Linked DNA regions of Homo sapiens: all the other regions are linked to region 1. The links are contacts of gene promoters, found by promoter capture Hi-C in blood cells and fetal thymus (Javierre and others, 2016). All regions are on one chromosome and are shown on one strand. The core of a region is centred on a gene start or on the middle of the fragment in contact, and the rest is flanking DNA. Distances in the headings are between cores, read along the strand shown.

Region 1 (3,988 bases), core at 751-3,250:
TACCAGATTCTCCAGAAGGAGGGGAAGAGGCCCAGCCCAGCATGGGAGTTGGGTCTGGAGCCCCTTACACGGCTGAGCTGAATTCACTCCTGAATCAGGGATCCCACCTGGCTGGGGTCCTCCCACAGAGCTGGAAGGCTTTGGCTCCTGGCCCAGCAGCAAGACTGGACCTGATTGTCCTTCTGCACGCTCTGTAATTTGCCCCTGGAATAAGCATTAAGTCATTTGGAGGCCGATGCCAAAGATAAGGGCTCATATCAGCCTTTGGGATCTGTGGCCCAGACTCCCTGGCTCTGTTGTGGGCTTTGCTGCCTCAGCCTCCAGACTGGCCTGCCAGGGACAGCGGGGCCTCAGCCAAGTTGCCCAGACAGTGGAGTAGCCTTAGAGCGTTGGAGCCAGTGTGGAAGAGCCGCTGCACCATGATGTGCTCCCCTTACAGATGGAGACACTGAGAGGGTGACGTGGCCCCAGGGACCTTTGGAGTCCTTGGGGCTTTTCTCCTCTGCATCGGCTCTGACCCCAGCACACACAAGCTCCAGCTCCTTCTCACACATAGTGGAACTGCACAGGTACGATGCTGCCCTGCACACAACCAGGCATACAGCACACTGCTGTGAGGAACTCAGGGCAGACAAGTCCAGAAGGGCTGCGGGCTCTCCACAGGTCCCAGCTGTCACTCTTCAAGACGGTCTGGACACAGGGGTCTGTGGGGGAGCCGGAAGGGTCTTTCAGAGGGCACGGAGGAGGGCCTCAGGAGACTGGGGGCTTGGAGGGTGGGTTCTGAAATCCCACGCAGCTGGGGGCAGGGCGAGGGCAGCTCCAGCGCAGTGACGCTGTCTCCACCCACCTCAACTTCTCTGCTTGAGTTTGGGAGTTCACTGCCAACAATTCTTGTGGCTCAGACACCCCACGCACACCTGGGCCTCACCACATCCGGCAGCAGGGCTGGGGGAGGGCGGAATGGAGGGGATACCCAGGCCCCCAGTCCTCCGGGTGCAGTGCTAGCCCTGGACTTTGCTGCCCGGCGGGGCTGGACAGGGAGGCCTAGGATGGGGGAGGCCAGTTCTGTTCTGCTTCTCCCTCTTCCCCTTGCCAAGGTCTTGAAATCCCCGCAGGCCTGGGGAGGGCCGGGAGCGTCAGCGGACTTCCCTCCAGGGCGGGCTTGTGGCAGGGGGAAGTACTTCTCTCTGGGGCCTGGGGGCTTTCCCTGCACCCAGGAGGAAGAAGCTTTGCCCTACACATAACTGGAAACCAGTCACAGACCCCTGCTTTCCCCATGAAAGGCCCTGGGACCCCCCCTCATTTCCCTTCGGCCCAAGCCCAGGGGCCTGGGCCCCGGGGACTGTGTTCTGGCCTAGCTTGGCCACCAACCTACTGCAAGACCCTGAGTACTGGTCTTATCCAGGCAATGGGGGGTGGGGAGGGGGAGGAGAGAGAAAGTCCCTCTGGCTCAAGGTCTCCAAATAGATGAGAAATAGGACATCTCAGCAGGGACCCCCCCCATCATCCAGTGTAGAAATCACCCGTGGCAGCAGGCATTTGTCAATGTTTGTGGTGACAAATTTCTAAGAGGAAAATTCTGGGAGGGAAAGGGAAAAGGCAGAGGAAGCGTGGGGTTAGGGGGTGGGGTACTCCAAGGGTCATCGTTGGCCCTAAAGGGGGACCTGCATCTGAGAAGCTGGGTTCCCCAGGACTGAGTGGCTTGGGACAGGTCAAAGGGTGGGCGCAAAAACGGAGGGGTGCTAGTCCCTCCGACTCCGGGTAACACCTTCCCTTCCCTTAGTCGCTGGTCCCCGCCTCCTCCCGGTGTGTTGGTCCCCGCGCCCTGCCTTCCCCCTCAACCTCCCCCCCGCCCCGAAGTCTCCAGGTCAGCCCAGACTGCGCCCCACGTGAGGGGCGGGGGCGGGCGCGGGCGCCAGCGCCTTCCTGCTCTGCCCTTGTATGGTGCCCCGGAGGCCGGCCCACGGGTACTTAACCCGGGCCGCCGCGGAGGGCGCCCGGAGTCGACCGCTCGGGCAGCGCCACCGCCACGAGAGCCCGGGACGCGGGAAAGACCGAAAGGAAGAGGAAGAGGCACCGGTGGCCATGGGGCTGGAGGCGGCGCGCGAGCTGGAGTGCGCGGCGCTGGGCACGCTGCTGCGGGATCCGCGGGAGGCGGAACGCACGCTGCTGCTGGACTGCCGCCCCTTCCTGGCCTTCTGCCGGCGCCACGTGCGCGCCGCGCGGCCAGTGCCTTGGAACGCGCTGCTGCGGCGCCGCGCGCGCGGCCCTCCTGCCGCCGTTCTCGCCTGCCTGCTGCCCGACCGCGCGCTGCGGACGCGCCTGGTCCGCGGGGAGCTGGCGCGGGCCGTGGTGCTGGACGAGGGCAGTGCCTCGGTGGCGGAGCTCCGGCCCGACAGCCCGGCTCATGTGCTGCTGGCCGCGCTGCTGCACGAGACCCGCGCGGGGCCCACTGCCGTGTACTTCCTGCGAGGTGAGCAAGCCGGCCGCCCTTGGCCCGCCCCACCCGACTCCAGCCCGGCTTTCCCTGCTGATCGTGCTCTTCCCCTCCTTGCAGGAGGCTTCGACGGCTTCCAGGGCTGCTGTCCCGATCTGTGCTCTGAGGCCCCCGCCCCTGCGCTGCCGCCAACAGGGGACAAAACCAGCCGCTCCGACTCCAGGGCTCCTGTCTACGACCAGGTGAGTATTGACCCCCCTCCCCCGAACCTCCCTCTCTCCCCGCCGCGGACTGGGCGCCTCTAGGGAAAGAGCCTGCCATTTGGGGATGCGAGCAGTTTGCCCATATACACACACTTTTATACGTGTGTGTGTTGGGGGAGGGGGTGGGGCATGGCTGCTCGCGCGTGCCTGTATGGGTCTGTGTATGTTTGCATGTGTATGTTGGGAGCATGAAGGGAAATGTATGTCCCGGTGTGTCCTCCGCACATTCCTGAGACCTGTCTCAGGTCAGGAGGACTGGCTGAGGAGTCCTCTTGTCTCGGCCAGCCCATGGGGTCTCCACCCGCTGCTGCTCCAGCTCTCCGGGGCTGGGCTGGAAAGGCCTCACCGCCCCTCTGTTCCCTCCAGGGTGGCCCTGTGGAGATCTTGCCCTACCTGTTCCTGGGCAGCTGCAGTCACTCGTCAGACCTGCAGGGGCTGCAGGCCTGTGGCATCACAGCCGTCCTCAACGTGTCCGCCAGCTGCCCCAACCACTTTGAGGGCCTTTTCCGCTACAAGAGTATCCCTGTGGAGGACAACCAGATGGTGGAGATCAGTGCCTGGTTCCAGGAGGCCATAGGCTTCATTGGTAAGGGGGCACCTCTGCCCAGAAATCCCGAGGGGCTCCAGAGGAGAGGACTGGGGGCACCTGTCTCCTGGGCTGTGCACATTCCGTCTGACACCACTCCCCCATCTCCCTTGCAGACTGGGTGAAGAACAGCGGAGGCCGGGTGCTGGTGCACTGCCAGGCGGGTATCTCGCGCTCTGCCACCATCTGTCTGGCATACCTCATGCAGAGTCGCCGTGTGCGGCTGGACGAGGCCTTTGACTTCGTTAAGCAGCGCCGGGGGGTCATCTCCCCCAACTTCAGTTTCATGGGGCAGCTGCTGCAGTTTGAGACCCAGGTGCTGTGTCACTGAGGTGGTGCCCCTCTGCCTGCCTGCCCCACTGTGCTGGCAGGAGCTGACTGTGGACTGGTGGGCTCCCCTCTGGGCCAGCACAGTCCCCTCACCTCTGGCAGGGCTGCTACCTCCTCAGAGTTTCAGAAGCCCCCACATGGGGGCTCTAGGAATGCCGGCATGCTGGTCTTTCCGACCTGGTGCTCTTCTGCTGGGGGACTGAGGCTGGCCCTCATTCGGGGTCGGGAACCAAGGGTGTGTCTGCTCTTTCCCTCCCCATCCTCTGGCAGAAATCAGCTAGACGCTATACCGTGGACTCTCCCTGGTCCACCACCATGTTGAAGCCCTTGGCAGCCTGAGAGCTCCAAGGAACAAGCTGTGACAACCAGGAG
Region 2 (3,828 bases), core at 476-2,975, 520 kb before region 1:
TGCTCTTAGAAGCCTGACTTAGAGTCAAAAGGCCAGTAAGACTCCGCCTTCAAGAGAACTGTCATCCACAACAGCTGATAGGTGACGGAGACAGATTGAAAGGCGATCAAAATCAGACTACAGAACCCCAAAAAGAAAGCATCTCAGAGCCATTTAGTGCAGGAACAAGTAGCCCGGTACTGCAGATAGCCCAGGATAATAACTATGTTCCCATAATGGCTCCAGGCCATCAACAAAAAGCTCTAATTATATTCAGGGCAAAGTTGCTGAGAAGATAAGAAAATGTATATTATCATTTAAAATGTGTCTTTAAAGGGATTTGTTTTGTTTTTATATGTGGGTGAAAGGGCACATTTAAGTTCTCTGGAAAGTTCAGTTGTATGACCCACTCATTGCTTAATACATCTACCATAGAATCTAGTCATTCTGCATCTACATATTTACCTAAGAGAAATGAAAGCATATGTCTATGCTAAGGGTTGTACACAAGTGTTTACAGCTTCATTGTAACAGCCCCAAACCGGAAATGTTCATAAACAAGGAAAGGGATAAGCAAACTGTGGTACATCCATACAATGGAATATTACTTAGCAACAAAAAGGAATAAACCACTGATACACAGCAATGGCATGAATGAATTTCACAATAATTATGCTGAGTGAAAGAAGTCAGACAAATAAGGGTACTTACTGAACGATTCCATTTCTATGAAACACTAGGAAATGCAAGCTAATACGTAGTAACAGAAAGCAGATTGTTGGTTGCCTGGGGATGGGAGGGGGTGGAATAGGAATCACAGGGAGGGATTCCCAAGAGGCATTAGGCAACTTTTGGAGGTGATAGATATATTCATTATGTTGATTGTATGATGGGTTTCCTGGATGTGTACATATTTTAAAATGTATCAAATTGTACATTTCCTTTCTTCCTTCCTTCCTTCCCTCCCCTTCCATCCCTCCTTCCCTCCCTCTCTCCTTCCTCTCTCTCTCTCTCTTTTCTTTTTTCTTTTATATTTTCCTGAGACTGAGTCTCCCTCTGTTGTGCAGGCTGGAGTGCAGTGGCTTGGCTTGGGCAACAGGTTGTTATCACCTACTTAGCTGAAGTGTTTGCTCAAATAAGTAGGTGATACTACCTCGGCTCAGCTCACTGCAACTTCCACCTCCGGGGTTCAAGCAACTCTCCTGCCTCACCCTCCCGAGTAGCTGGAACTACAGGCGCATGTCACCACGCCCGACTAATTTTTATCTTTTTAGTAGAGTCTGGTTTCGCCACTGTTGTCCAGGCTGGTCTCAAACTCTGGAGCTCAAGTGATCTGCCCACGTCAGCCTCCGAAAGTGCTGGGATTACAGGTGTAAGCCACCGTGCCCAGCCAAATTGTACATTTTAAATATCTACAAGTCATACATACCATTGACATAGGTACGTCAATGATAACTCAGTAAGCTGTAAAAGGTAAAGTTTTCCATAATATGTCCTGGGCTTCCTCATGCTCCCTATCAGGCAGAGTCCCCCTTGCCATGCTTTTTGGCCCCCACCCTCTGTCTTCACCCCCACACAATCATCCAAACTTCCCTTCTATGTTAGGGGATGTGGGAGAAGGGTGGGCATGATGGAGGAGCCATACCTGAATCCGGAAGGTCAGGATCTGGTTCCATATCGGGTTGTCGGTTTGGGTCTGCATGTGTGTCCTGAGCTGGAATGTCCCAAAGCAGTGTTGGTGCCAGCCTGCCCCCTCCTCCCTCCACTGACCTCACCTTCCAGCTCTTCCTGTCCAGCCTCCCAGTGGACACCACAGCACAGAGGTGCTTGGGCTAATCCCTGCTCTCAAGACACCTGCACAACTTCTCAGCAGCAACAGCGCCAGTCCTTTGTGTACTTACCCGAGGTGTTTGCCAGATTCAGATTCCTCATATTTTTCCTTAAGTCAGCTTTCAATAGACTTCATTTTTAAATAGATATAAGGCTACTGACCTTACTATATGAGTGTATAGACATATATTTTGCTAGATAAATTCTGAGATCCCAAAAGAAAAATGGGCAAAAACACAGCTAATGGCAGCAGCATGCCTGTTTTAAAACCGTCAGTTGAGTTTATGTGTAAGCAGTGGTATCTGTGGAATCAAGTGTTACTTGGCCTTATTAAACTTTTTAAGGTACACTAAGATGAACACAGAAGTATCAAAATTTTTGAGAACTGCGTGTCACTTACCACCTGAGAACGTTTCACCTAGCTTTGGGGGTACCCAACCACTCACTGGGAAATACTCAGTATGGTGGTTTTAAATATGTTCACAAATTCTTTGGTACTCCTCCCTTCAAAAGATAGACATTATTTTCTCTCCGCTTATGTGTGGGCTGGATTTAACGACTTGCTTGCAACAAATAGAATATGGTAGAAATTCTGCTTGGCAAATATGGAAAATATCTGTTTAACTGTAACCTAGCATTGTCCGAATTTGAACATAGGACCCTTTTTTACCCATGACACCCATCAGCACACTTTGGAAAATGCTATTCCGTATTCATAGAGGTTCATGGAATGTCAGCAACTCTCTTGCCCAGAACCTTCGTTTACACATGAAGAAACTGAGGGGTGGCGACAGTTTCGATGGTGTTCACTCATTGGCATGTTTCATTCACGCACTCATTCTTCCACGTGTATTTGGTTTTTGGGGGGCATCTGGCATGCAGAGAATAAGACGTGGCCTCCGCCTGCACAGAGTTCCAGGTGCAGGGGTGCATACTTCTCTCAGTGGGTGACTGGGAGATGATTCCTGTGGTCTTGCCCACCAGGCCACCCTCCTCTCCAAACTACTTTCTCTAGATGCCAATCTCTCTGGGTCTCAGAATATTTCTACACTTACCTTTTCCCCAATTAGTTCCACCTCCAACTGAGGATTCACTGACTGGTGTTTCTCTATGAACAACAAGTTAAAAGATATCTGAGCCAGCAGCATTTTTCAGGAGGAGGAAATAGGGTGGCGACAGAACAACTGAAAACCCTCCCCTATAATTTAGAGGGGTGCCCCCTGGGCAGACCTGTCTCCAGTTCCCACCATGCCCCTTCTTCTTCCACACAATGGCATGGGGTGGGGGGACATAGGGAGCCTTGAGTTTGCATCTGGCCATCATAGACAGGCTGGGGGTGTGAGACCCGTTTGAAAGGGTGTCCATGGCACCTCCACAGGACAAGTCTGGGAGCAATTCCAGTCTCACCCTGTCCCCCCTACCCCAAACAGTAGTTTAGTGCCAAAAGGAATGAGGAAACTCCATGAGGATCCAGGGTATCACCGTGTAGGGAATCTCAGGGCTGCTCCCTCCCCTGCACCCAGACTCTAACTGAGGTGAAGGTCCTCTGCGCAGTAGATGAAGAGCTGTAAGTAAGCCATGTTGATCGGGACTACCGCTGACTTGAAGATCTGAATATCGGTGTCATCGGTGCCATAGAGCAGCTTTTGATCTATCTGGAGAGACCAGAGAGCTGATATAGTCAAGGTAATGGGGAGGTCACAGGCAAGGACACCAGACTTTGCTTCTCCAACTTCCCACTTGGTGCAGGGGGGATGGGACAACCCTGCAGTGACGCAGCGGACAAAGGAGAGATGTGATGGTCAATATCCAGGGTGAGGCCCAGGGGTGCCCCCAGGAGGCAGCCAGGATAGGAAAGTTTCCGGGGTTAGGGGCAGCTCACCAGGGCCTGGTCTCCCACACCGAGGGCATAGATGGTGACTTTCAGGTAGCCTGTCACACCACTGCCAGGGTTATTTGGCTGGCAGAGGCCTAGCCATTTCCTTAGGAGTGTGTGACCTAGAGAGGCAGAAAGGCCAT
Region 3 (4,086 bases), core at 1,276-3,775, 600 kb before region 1:
CCGCCCGCCAGGGCCTCCCAAAGTGTTGTTTACAGGCGTGAGTCACTGTGCCTGGCCCATTCCTCTCCTTTTCTTAGACCTCTGTGTTTCCCATCAGCAAACCCTGCTGGCTGTACCTTGAAAATATATCTAAGACCCATCCAGTAGCCCCACCCAGCCCCCAGCCCTTCCCTTTCCCACTGGGTAACCGCACAGCTGCCTGCTTATTCTCTTTGCTCCTACCCTTTCTACTCTACAGTCACTCCTCAAGTCAGTAGCCAGAGTGATCCTTTAAAAATATAGGTTAGATTACAACCTCCTCTGTTCAAAACCTTCCAGAGACTCTCCATCTCTTTTATTTATTTATTTGAGACAGAGTCTCGCTCTGTCGCCCAGGCTGGAGTATAGTGGCGTGATCTCGGCTCATTGCAACCTCCACCTCCTGGGTTCAAGCGATTCTCCTGCCTCAGCCCCCACAAGTAACTGGGATTACAGATGCGTGCCATCATGCCTGGCTAATTTTTGTATTTTTAGTAGAGACGGAGTTTCACCGTGTTGGCCAGGCTGGTCTCAAACTCCTGACCTCAGGTCATCTGCCTGTCTTGGCCTCCCAAAGTGCTGGGATTACAGGTGTGAGCCACTGTGCCTAGCCCAGTCTTTCATTTCATGCTTTCAGAAGTCCAGTGTGGTGGGTTTCATCACACTCATTTTACAGACAGAAGATCTGAGACTCAGAGAGATTACGTAATTTTCCTGAGATCATACAGTACAGCTGGGTCTCAAAAGGCAGAAGTTTCATTCCAACTCCAATCAGATATGCCAGAGTTCTCCTCCTTCACCACACCCCATTCTACGATCCTTGGCGAATCTTATGCCCTAACTCTGTGGGAAGCAAGCATCTGGATCCCCAGAGGCATTGCTGAATTGTGGGAGCTCTGCCACTGCAAGGAGAGCCACCATAGATCTGAGATCTGGTCCTCAGGATACTGGTTTTTATCAATTCCCCTGCAAATAAACAGACTGGGAGGGCTAAGTCACTCTGGCTAAACTAATAACTAAGTGATAAACCCAAATACACACTAATTTCTTAATTTATACAGAAAAATTAAACTGCTAAGAGGATTAGAACGTTAGGCTGGAAGTCTTTATAAATACGCTCAGAAAATAGGCTTTATTTGAATAAAGTTATATGGAGATCTAACACAGGCTGCTTAGAAGCACTCTCTTTCCTGGACAGAACTGATACAACTCTGACTTATTTTCATCCCTTGACTGTTCTTTTTCTAGATTGCAGACGCCTCTCTCTTTAGTTATGACAACATTATATTGGATGGGTCACAATGAACTTTACTAGATTATAGTTAATTACAGTTTTCCTTCCCTCAGGGAAATTTAGAAAACACCACAAATGCATACCCAGCATATTTCCTCATCATCTCCACGGGAGACTTTGAGAAGCTTTTCCTTACGGCAACTCTCACACATCCATGAAGCTGGAGGGAGTGTTGTGCACCCCTATCTCAGCTGCAGCAGTTCTCAACATCCTGATGCTTTTTTTGTTTATCCATCCTACCCTTCTAAACACACACACACGATATTCCTCTAGAGTATCTTAAAGCAAATCTTTAATTCTTATCTTTAAATTCAGGAGTTGGAGCCTCTATGAACTGTTCTTGTCATTTTTTTTTTTTAAGAGATAGGGTCTTTCTCTGTCACCCAGGCTGGAGTGGAGTGGCCTGATCATGGCTCACTACAGCCTTGACCCCCGGGGTAAAATGTCGCAGCCTCCCAAGTAGCTGGGCCTACCGGCGCACACTAGCACACCCAGACAATTTTTTGTATTTTTTGTATTTTTTAGAGACGGGGTCTTACTATGTTGCCCAGGCTGGTGTCAAACTCCTGAATTCAAGTGATCCTCCTGCCTCGGCCTCCAAAGTGCTCGTACTGCAGGTGTGAGCCACTGAGCCCAGCCTGTCCTAATCTTAAAGATTACCACAACAAGTCATTGTGAGGTCAAAATGAGATACTGCATGTGAAAGGGCTGTAGTTCTGAAAACTGGGCTGCGTATTAAATTCTCTGGTGGAGGGTGGGGTGGGCACGATGGCTCATGCCTATAATTCCAACACTTTCGAGGGCCAAGGTAGTAGGATGCCTCGAGCCCGGGAGTTCAAGACCAGCCTGGGCAAATAGCAAGACATTATCTCTACAAAAAATAAAATAATAGCCAGGCATGGTGACACCTGACTGTATTCCAACTACTCAGAAGGCTAAGGCAGGAGGATCCCTTGAGCCCAGGAGTTTGAGCCAGGAGAATCCCTTGAGCCCAGGAGTTTGAGGCTGCAGTTCACACCACTGCACTCTAGCCTGGGTGACAGAACAAGACCCCATCTCTTAAAAGAAAAAAAAAAAGGCCAGGCATGGTGGCTCACGCCTGTAATCCCAGTACTTTGGGACGCTGAAGTGGGCGGATTGCTTGAACCCAGGAGTTCGAGACCAGCCTGGCCAACATGGTGAAACCCCGTCTCTACAAAAAATATAAAATTTAGCTGGGTGTGGTGGCATGTGCCTGTGGTCCCAGCTACTCAGGAGGCTGAGGTGGGAGGATGGCTTGAGCCTGGGAGGCAGAGGTTGCAGTGAGCTGTGATCACACCACTGCCCTCCACTGGGTGATAGAGTGAGACTCTCTCTCAAAAAAAAAAATTAAATTCTCCAGGTTTTATTTTTTTTTCTTCAAAGCTAAATCCCTACACTTGTTGAGTCACGTGTCTGGCAGTAGGGCTCAGGCAAAGGTACCTACCCCAGGATATTTGACTGTGGCTTTCAGGAGTCCAATGTTGAGAAGTCACCGCTGGGAAGTAGCTAGCTAGTTAGTGTTGGAGCTGCTATCCTCTTGTATGCTTCAGTGGCTACCTGGGGAACTGGAGGTACAGTTGGTAGGACCCGGTCAGCTGTGACTATTGGGCTGAAGATGGACCTGACACACTGGATACCTGAGGATGGATGGATGGTTGTACTTGGCCTAGGGAGGGCTGCTTCTGTCCTGGGAGGGGGTGGATCAGAATTGAATGGCAAGGTTTGTAAAAGAAGGGTGAGAAGCAGTGGAAAGAATAGGCCAAGAGGCTGCCCTGGAGCCTCTGTCATGGGGTGAAGGGGCATCAGGCTTCAAGGTGCTCCTGAGTGGAGGTACTTCTTTGGTTGTTGTTGTTTTTAATTTTTTAAAAGGGACAGGGTCTCAACATCTTGCCCAGGCTGATCTTGAACTCCTGGGCTCAAGCGATCCTCCCAAAGTGCTAGAATTACAGGCATGAGCCACTGCGCCCAGCCCTGCTCTTTGGTTTGGAAGACAGGAAGGTAGAGGAATCATGCAGAACTGCTGGAATGCACAACTCACATTGCATATGAATACCCCGGCCCTGAAGTTGTGCAGCCCTAGATCGTGGGAGATAGATGATTCCACAGAGAAAAAGGGGACCACTAGGCAGCTGAAAGGATGGTAGCGCAAGACCTGAGCCAGCTTTCGGAGGTGCCTCTGCGTGTGAGTAAAAGGTGGCGTTGAAGGGGCCATGGCTACTTGTTCTCTTTCCCACTACCACCCCTCAACACCTTGACTGTGTTGAACTTAGCTGAAGCTTGTGCTTCTGAAAAGCACCTACAGTAAAGAAATTCCCCATCCTTTTGTCTTCCTTCCATCTCACTTTGTAGACTCCGTTGTCCAGGCTGGAGTATAGTGGCGCGATCTTGGCTCACTGCAACCTCTGCCTCCCAGGCTCAAGAGATTCTCATATCTCAGCCTCCCAAGTAGCTGGGATTACACACACGTGCCATGATGCCCGGCAAATTTTTTATGTATTTTTAGTAGAGACAGGGTTTCACCATGTTTGTTGGCCAGGCTGGTCTTAAACTCCTGACATATGATCTGTCCGCCTCAGCATCCCAAAGCGCTGGGATTACAGGCATGAGCCACTGCGCCCAGCTGAGAGATGGCTGTCTTAACGGACTACCCTGCTCTGGAATATCCCAAGATAAGACCCACTTCCACCCTTCCTCAGTGACTCAGATAAGACCCTCTCCATCCTTCCTCTCACGAAAGATCCCTTGTTTACCTG

The links. The method cuts DNA at HindIII sites, captures the fragments that hold promoters and counts their contacts. A CHiCAGO score of 5 or more calls a contact.
Region 2: a contact is called between a fragment that was not itself captured here and the fragment with the promoter of DUSP2 in region 1, in 1 of 17 cell types (monocytes). The highest score is 5.7, in monocytes.
Region 3: a contact is called between a fragment that was not itself captured here and the fragment with the promoter of DUSP2 in region 1, in 2 of 17 cell types (total B cells and monocytes). The highest score is 6.4, in total B cells.

The regions. Positions count from the first base shown.
Region 1 is chr2:96,143,452-96,147,439 of GRCh38, reverse strand. It overlaps DUSP2 (dual specificity phosphatase 2), which reads left to right and starts at 2,000. Exons shown (of 4, transcript NM_004418.4): 1 at 2,000-2,473; 2 at 2,558-2,679; 3 at 3,067-3,286; 4 at 3,403-3,988. The coding sequence starts at 2,086. The coding sequence ends at 3,617. RefSeq lists enhancers at 1-30, 441-1,320, 2,117-2,618, 3,021-3,070 and a silencer at 1,631-2,390. The HindIII fragment of the contact is 7,151 bases long and covers 1,230-3,988 here.
Region 2 is chr2:96,661,304-96,665,131 of GRCh38, reverse strand. It overlaps FER1L5 (fer-1 like family member 5), which reads right to left. Exons shown (of 53, transcript NM_001293083.2): 11 at 3,692-3,807; 12 at 3,341-3,464; 13 at 2,865-2,917; 14 at 1,625-1,693. Among named protein-coding and RNA genes, the nearest start is that of FER1L5, 20 kb to the right of the region's middle. RefSeq lists enhancers at 3,068-3,568, 3,569-3,828. The HindIII fragment of the contact is 7,223 bases long and covers 1-3,828 here.
Region 3 is chr2:96,744,555-96,748,640 of GRCh38, reverse strand. No RefSeq gene overlaps it. Among named protein-coding and RNA genes, the nearest start is that of LMAN2L, 6.5 kb to the right of the region's middle. The HindIII fragment of the contact is 2,172 bases long and covers 1,440-3,611 here.